2 separate regions of the Homo sapiens genome follow, and region 2 is linked to region 1. Evidence: promoter capture Hi-C in human tissues and cell types (Jung and others, 2019). All regions are on one chromosome and are shown on one strand. The core of a region is centred on a gene start or on the middle of the fragment in contact, and the rest is flanking DNA. Distances in the headings are between cores, read along the strand shown.

Region 1 (3,145 bases), core at 485-2,984:
GGTTTTAGTTATGATTAAATATTACTTTAGATGGCAAGTATTTAATTTTCTTAGTGTGCTTTTTGAATTGCTTAAACCTCATTAATGCCATGAAAAACCTAAATGAACCATATCTTTGTACTTGCGTTTGGCAGATAGAGAAAAGATTATTTATGTATTGAATTGATAATCAAGTGGAATTGTCAATGAAATTAAGATGATGAGATGTGATCCTCACCAGTGGCTACTTTTAGAAATTTACATTCAGAAAAATTTGATCCTGAATGGGCTCCTGATGAGTAAGATTGGGAAATCAGGACCAAAATGAAACAGATGGACAAAGAAGAGACCAAGGCCTCCATGTGCCTGCAGAATCTTCTGTCAGGATCTTGAGAGATAAGAACAAAAGAGGATTTTGAACAGTCTCAGAAAATACTGAGGTTTAGATTTTTTGATGTGTGTGTGTTTGTGTGTGTATAACAAGAGTTTTTGACAGCTTGATTTTGCAAAGAGCAAATGTATATACAATTTGTGTGTGGACCCAGTAATGTATTTCTAGTAGATATGTAGATATGCAAAAATATTTATAGAGAACTATTTCCACCTCATCATCACCCAATTTTTATGACGTGGTGGCTCGGCTTAAGCTAGTCCTACTTTTACAGACAACTTTGTTAAACTGATTGTTGAGATAAGGCAGTTGGTTCAAAACTTACCACAAAGGAAGGTGGAAATCAGAAGGATGGTTCTCAGACCCTGAGATGGGAGGGCTGCTGAGGTGATATCAGCATTGCAGAACCAAAGCTCCCCTATTTCTTTCCCAAATCAGACTCAGGATCACCTTTCTAGCTCACACACTCAAAGCAGCTTTTTACAAGATCTACAATAAGGGCCTAGATTGGGAATGAATAAATAAACAAGTCTACCCTTTTGCTCTTAACTGTTTTCACTCTCTCCTGGGAAAGTGAAAAAAAAAAAAAAAGGAAGTACATCATAGTATCATAGGAAGATTGAATTCTAAAAATTTGTATGTCATTTTAGTATGTTTCGGTATAGCTTCAGTTTCCACTAGTAACTTTCCTTAGCCATATCACTCTGTCCAGAGTTTTCCAGATCAACTTCTTTATTTCATGACTAATGCATACTTCCACTTACCTTCCTAACTCTCCTCTTCCCCTTCCCCTGCAAGCCCTTCCACCTACCTGCTTTAGGATAGGTAGAAATAAGCAGGTCATCAGGCTTGGCTTGGAAGTTCCAGATCTTATCCCAGATGTCACAGGTGTCTGTCGGTTGAAGAATTCCCTTCACGTAGTTGACACTTAAGCGCTTTGTTCCATCAAATGTAAAATCCTCCATGTCGTGTAAGGCCATTAGTGTAAGAAATCAGAGGGCTCTTCCAGACACAAAGTTATCTTCAGTCAGCATATGGCTGCGTTGTGGATAGAGGCAGCACTCTATCCACCACACTACCACACTATCCAGCCCTCTAGCACAGGCCTGTCTGGGCCAGCAAACAGGGAGAAAGTGAGTTGCAGGCCTCCCGACTCAGGTTCCAGGGAACTGGAACTCTTGTTTATGACTTTGTCCACTGGCAGTTTCCTGAGGAACTGCAGCCCCCTCCTCACCAGGCTGTGGCGTCACAGCAGAGGCGGCCACAAACCCTGCTGGCCAGCAAACAGGGAGAAAGTGAGCTGCAGGTCTCCCGACTCAGGTTCCAGGGAACTGGAGCTCTTGTTTATGAATTTGTCCACTGGCAGTTTCCTGAGGAACTGCAGCCCCCTCCTCACCAGGCTGTGACGTCACAGCAGAGGCGGTCACAAACCCTGCTGGCTGGGTCCCGTTCCAGCCCTTCCGTTCTCTGTGAGTTAACAGGACATAGTATCACATTGTTTATAGCTCTCATGTCTGTGTCCATTAAACCCTTCATAGATAATTTCAGTAATTATTCCTTCTGGGAATTTTAAACAATTAAAAAGTTGCAGGACTTGCCTGTGAAATTACAGATTCTACACAGAATGACTTCCCTGAGAGACTGCAGGGACTTTCCCGTGGGCTATTAACAGTGGGGGCCTGGATGGATCTGAATCTCCCAGTACAAACATCTGCCAGGGTCAGCTTTGTTATTTTTTAAGAGTAAAATAAATAATGCTAAACTGGAGAATTGTAGGGGTTTCATCACAGCTATGAAAACATGTATGCCTCATTTAAAGCAAAAGGGATGCAGAAAACTCCAGAGTTAACAGAAGACAGTGGCTGCCTTAGGAATCCATTCTGCCCCTGATAATCAGAAATTTCACAACTTGCTTCAGTCCCTGCCCCCGGCCTGGCCTGCACCCCAGGGCCATGCCACACTTGCTCCCCATGGCAGCACTCCTTCTGGAGATCTTGTCGGCTCTTGTGTGTCTGGCTGTCTGATTCTCTTTCTTCGTGTCCCAGCTTTGATGCCCCCTTTCTGGAGAAGCCTTCTTTGACTTTCTATGTCATCTCAAGTAGGTCCCTCCTATTTCCTTGCTCATGGCACTTTGTGTTCCTTTAGAGCAACCATTGACAGTTAGTTTTTGCGTGTTTACTTGTTGGCATTTTCTGTCTCCTTCACTACACTCTAAGGCACATGAAATGGGGCCTGTTGTTTTCTCACTGTTTGATAGCTGTATGCCTAGTGTCTGGCATTCTTCTATTTCTCGAAAGAATGAATGAGTAAAACTAAGCAAAAATTGAGGAAGCGAGTTCCTTGGGCCATCATTATGTGGGGACTAGGTGAGTATGGTGGCTGTGGCTTGACATCCTTCAGAGAGAAGTCAGGCTGCCTGTATTTGAACCCTGTGCCAAGTCCCAGTAGCTGTGGGCAATGGCAGGTTACAGAATCTTTCTCTGTTTCATATCACGCTTTTCCTCAGGTCTGAATTGGGGATCTTAACATTATCTACCTCATGGTTGTGGGGAGATAAAACAGCTTATTTAATGCTTGGCAACAGGGAAATGTTGAATAAATCATAGCTGTTAATAATAATGGGTGACTTTGTTCACCATTTCTCTGTGGCCCATGTTCTGGATGCAAACTCAGAAAAGATCAATTCTTTGGCTTTCCCTATTCCTCATCCCCTCCCTCCAGACCATGGTGAGGTGGATGGGCCCTTGAGACAGAGACTGCCAGGTGGAATGCCTG
Region 2 (3,145 bases), core at 432-2,931, 260 kb before region 1:
AAACAGAATGGGCAGCAAAAAGGTGCAATCATTAAAAGCAGAACACTAACAAATGACTGAACAATGGCAAGCCTCAGTTTCTGTGAGCCCGTGCGCATGGATGTGTAAGTGCTTTGGGATGGGATCACTGAACTGTACTGTTTTGGTTTGGTAAGTTGAATTTGTCAACTTTTATCAGCCCAACAGCAATATAGCTTATTGCAGAAAATGTATGAAAGGCAGAGAAGAATCACGCATATTCCTGCCAACTGGAAACAAGTACTTTAACATTTTGAGCTCTATTCTTTTTAAAATACATGTACACGGCTGGGCACGGTGACTCACGTCTGTAATCCCAGCACTTTGGGAGGCCAAAGTGGGTGAATCATGAGGTTAGGAGTTCAAGATCAGCCTGACCAACATGGTGAAACCCTGTCTCTACTAAAAATACAAAAATTAGCCGGGTGTGGTGGCAGGTGCCTGTAATCCCAGCTACTCAGGAGGCTGAAGCAGGAGAATCACTTGAACCCGGGAGGTGGAGGTTGCAATGAGCTGAGATGGCGCAACTGCGCTCCAGCCTGGGCGATAGAGCGAGACTTAGTCTCAAAAAAACAAAACAAAAACATGTACACATATATGATATATGATCTTAAATAAATGCAGGGTTGTTGCAAGGTGACTTTAGAATTATCTTTAAAAGTGATGATCAACATTTCCAGCACTGGGTGAAACATACAAAGGACATACGATTTTCTGGATGAATACCACTGTCCCTTTTTTTTCTCCTGAACTTTCTGCTTATCAGAAACCTGCCCAGTCCTCAAGTACCTGCTCAAGATCTTCTCCAGGAAGCTTTCTTGACATTCCAGGCCTTATCGATCTTCTGTTCAGCAGCCATAGCACCCACTGTGTGTCCCATGCAGTGAGTGGGTAAGATTTTCATTGGATATAATGTTGTGTTCTGTATCGCAAAGGTGCTCCTCATCTCCTTAAGAACACCAGGAGGCCCTTAAGTAGACATTTTTTTTTTTTTGAGACGGAGTCTCACTCTGTCACCCACGCTGGAGTGCAGTAGCGCGATCCATGCTCACTGCAGGCTCCGCCTCCCGGGTTCACACCATTCTCCTGCCTCAGCCTCCCGAGTAGCTGGGACTACAGGTGCCTATCAACACGCCCGGCTAATTTTTTGTGTTTTTAGTAGAGACGGGGTTTCACCATCTTAGCCAGGATGGTGTTGATCTCCTGACTTCATGATCCACCCGCCTCGGCCTCTCCAAGTGCTGGGATTACAGGCGTGAGCCACCGTGCCCAGCCTGTGCTTAGTTTTCTTGAGACAGAGTCTCACTCTGTTGCCAGGCTGGAGTGCAGTGGTGCAATTTTGACTCACCGCAACCTCGATCTCCTGGGTTCAAGTGATTCTCGTGCCTCAGCCTCCTGAGTAGCTGGAATTACAGGCATGTGCTACCACACCAGGCTAATTTTTGTATTTTTAGTGGTAGAGACGGGGTTTCACCATGTTGGACAGGCTGGTCTCGAACTCCTGACCTCAGGTGATCCGCTCGCCCTGGCCTCCCAAAGTGCTGGGGTTACAGGCGTGAACCACCACGCCCAGCCTCTGTTGAATCTTTATACCCCTCATGGCACCAAGCACACTGTCATCATGCAATTAATCAAACTGGACATCTTGAGAGAAGTCCCTAGACTGCCTGCAGAGGGCATCTAAAGAGGGCAAGCCCTGGTGAGCTGCGTCCCTACCCAGACACCCAGACAGCTCAGTCTAGCTCGTTGCCTTTGGCGTAACTTTCCTCAAGAAAGACAGCTCGATCAATCAGAATCACTATAGTTTGAAATCTATAAGCCACCTCACAATTTTTTTTTCTCCCATGGTCCCTCAAATAAGCAGTGTTTAGTCAATTTAAAAACATTCTTGGGCTGGGCATGGTGCCTCATGCCTGTAATCCCAGCACTTTGGGAGGCTGAGGCAGGAGGATCACTTGAGCTCAGGAGCTGGAGACCAGCCTGGGCAACGTGGTGACACACCATCTCTATAGAAAAATTAGCCGGGCACGGTGGCATGCACCTGTAGGCGCTACTAAGGAGGCTGAGGTAGGAGGATCGCTTGAGCCTGTGAGCTATGACTGAGCTGTGATCATGCCACTGCATTCCGGCCTGGGAGACACAGCGAGATACTGTCTCAAAAAAAAAAAAAAAATCTTAAAATTTTCTCTCATAGGTTAGGTGATTTTTCTCTGACCATTTAGAAACTTTAACTAGAAAATGTCTCTGTACTAGTTCCTTTATATTTCAAATCACTTATCTTTTCATTCTTTTATTTTTATTCGTATTGTGATCCATTAACATACATTCTCACACCTAAACAGCTTTTTAAAAAGATAACATTGTGTTCTGGTCAAAACAGACAAATTAGAGGAAGCTGTGTTTCCAATACAGAATGGCAGTATTTTTAGCTAGGAATGCTGACTTAGGAGAACGCCCAGATCACCAGTGACAGCCTCCAGTGTGTCAGGAGCTCTTGACACGGCTGTAGTGGCTGTAGCACCAGAGTATCTGGCTCTAAATAACACCCTTATTTTAGTTCTGACTCAGTCAAGGCTATCTCCCTGGACATTAACCTTCAGCTACACTGGGAGGGAAGTCCGTGGGAGTTTTTATTTTGTGACTAAGCTTAACACGGGGTTTACTTCCCTCAATGATAAGGTAAAAGAAAACCATGAGAATTTCAGAATAGAACAGAATAAAAAACATTTCACTTGAGTCAAGTGAAAACAATGAACCTTTTCAAATTCAAATGTACATATCTTTCACTGCCCGTTATTTTCTTTTTGACACAGAACATGTTTTGTGTAGATTTTACTGCATTAAACAGCATTTGAAAATACTGACCAGGATGAAGCAGAGGAACTAAAATACACACACACACACACACACACACACACACACACACACACACACACATATATGTATATTTTGCTGAATTTAAAAAGGTTTCTTTTCTTTCATTAACTTTAAATTTTGTGAAATGTACACAGAAAGGCAAGGGATTATTTCAGCTACCATAACTTAGATTTTGCCATAAGTACAATGAAAAAAGATGTGGAAATAGTATAAGGTCAGGAGGTCAACCACTGTAAGCTGGTGCTCATGT

Evidence for each region. The method cuts DNA at HindIII sites, captures the fragments that hold promoters and counts their contacts. A contact is called where the count stands out against the background at its distance.
Region 2: a fragment that was not itself captured here is called in contact with the fragment with the promoter of SULT1C4 in region 1 in 1 of the 25 tissues and cell types used here (lymphoblastoid cells).

What each region holds. Positions count from the first base shown.
Region 1 is chr2:108,376,543-108,379,687 of GRCh38, reverse strand. It overlaps SULT1C4 (sulfotransferase family 1C member 4), which reads right to left and starts at 1,734. Exons shown (of 7, transcript NM_006588.4): 1 at 1,182-1,734. The coding sequence starts at 1,350. The HindIII fragment of the contact is 17,622 bases long and covers 1-3,145 here.
Region 2 is chr2:108,636,910-108,640,054 of GRCh38, reverse strand. The region is part of intron 1 of LIMS1 (LIM zinc finger domain containing 1); the gene reads right to left. Among named protein-coding and RNA genes, the nearest start is that of LIMS1-AS1, 40 kb to the left of the region's middle. The HindIII fragment of the contact is 4,573 bases long and covers 1-3,145 here.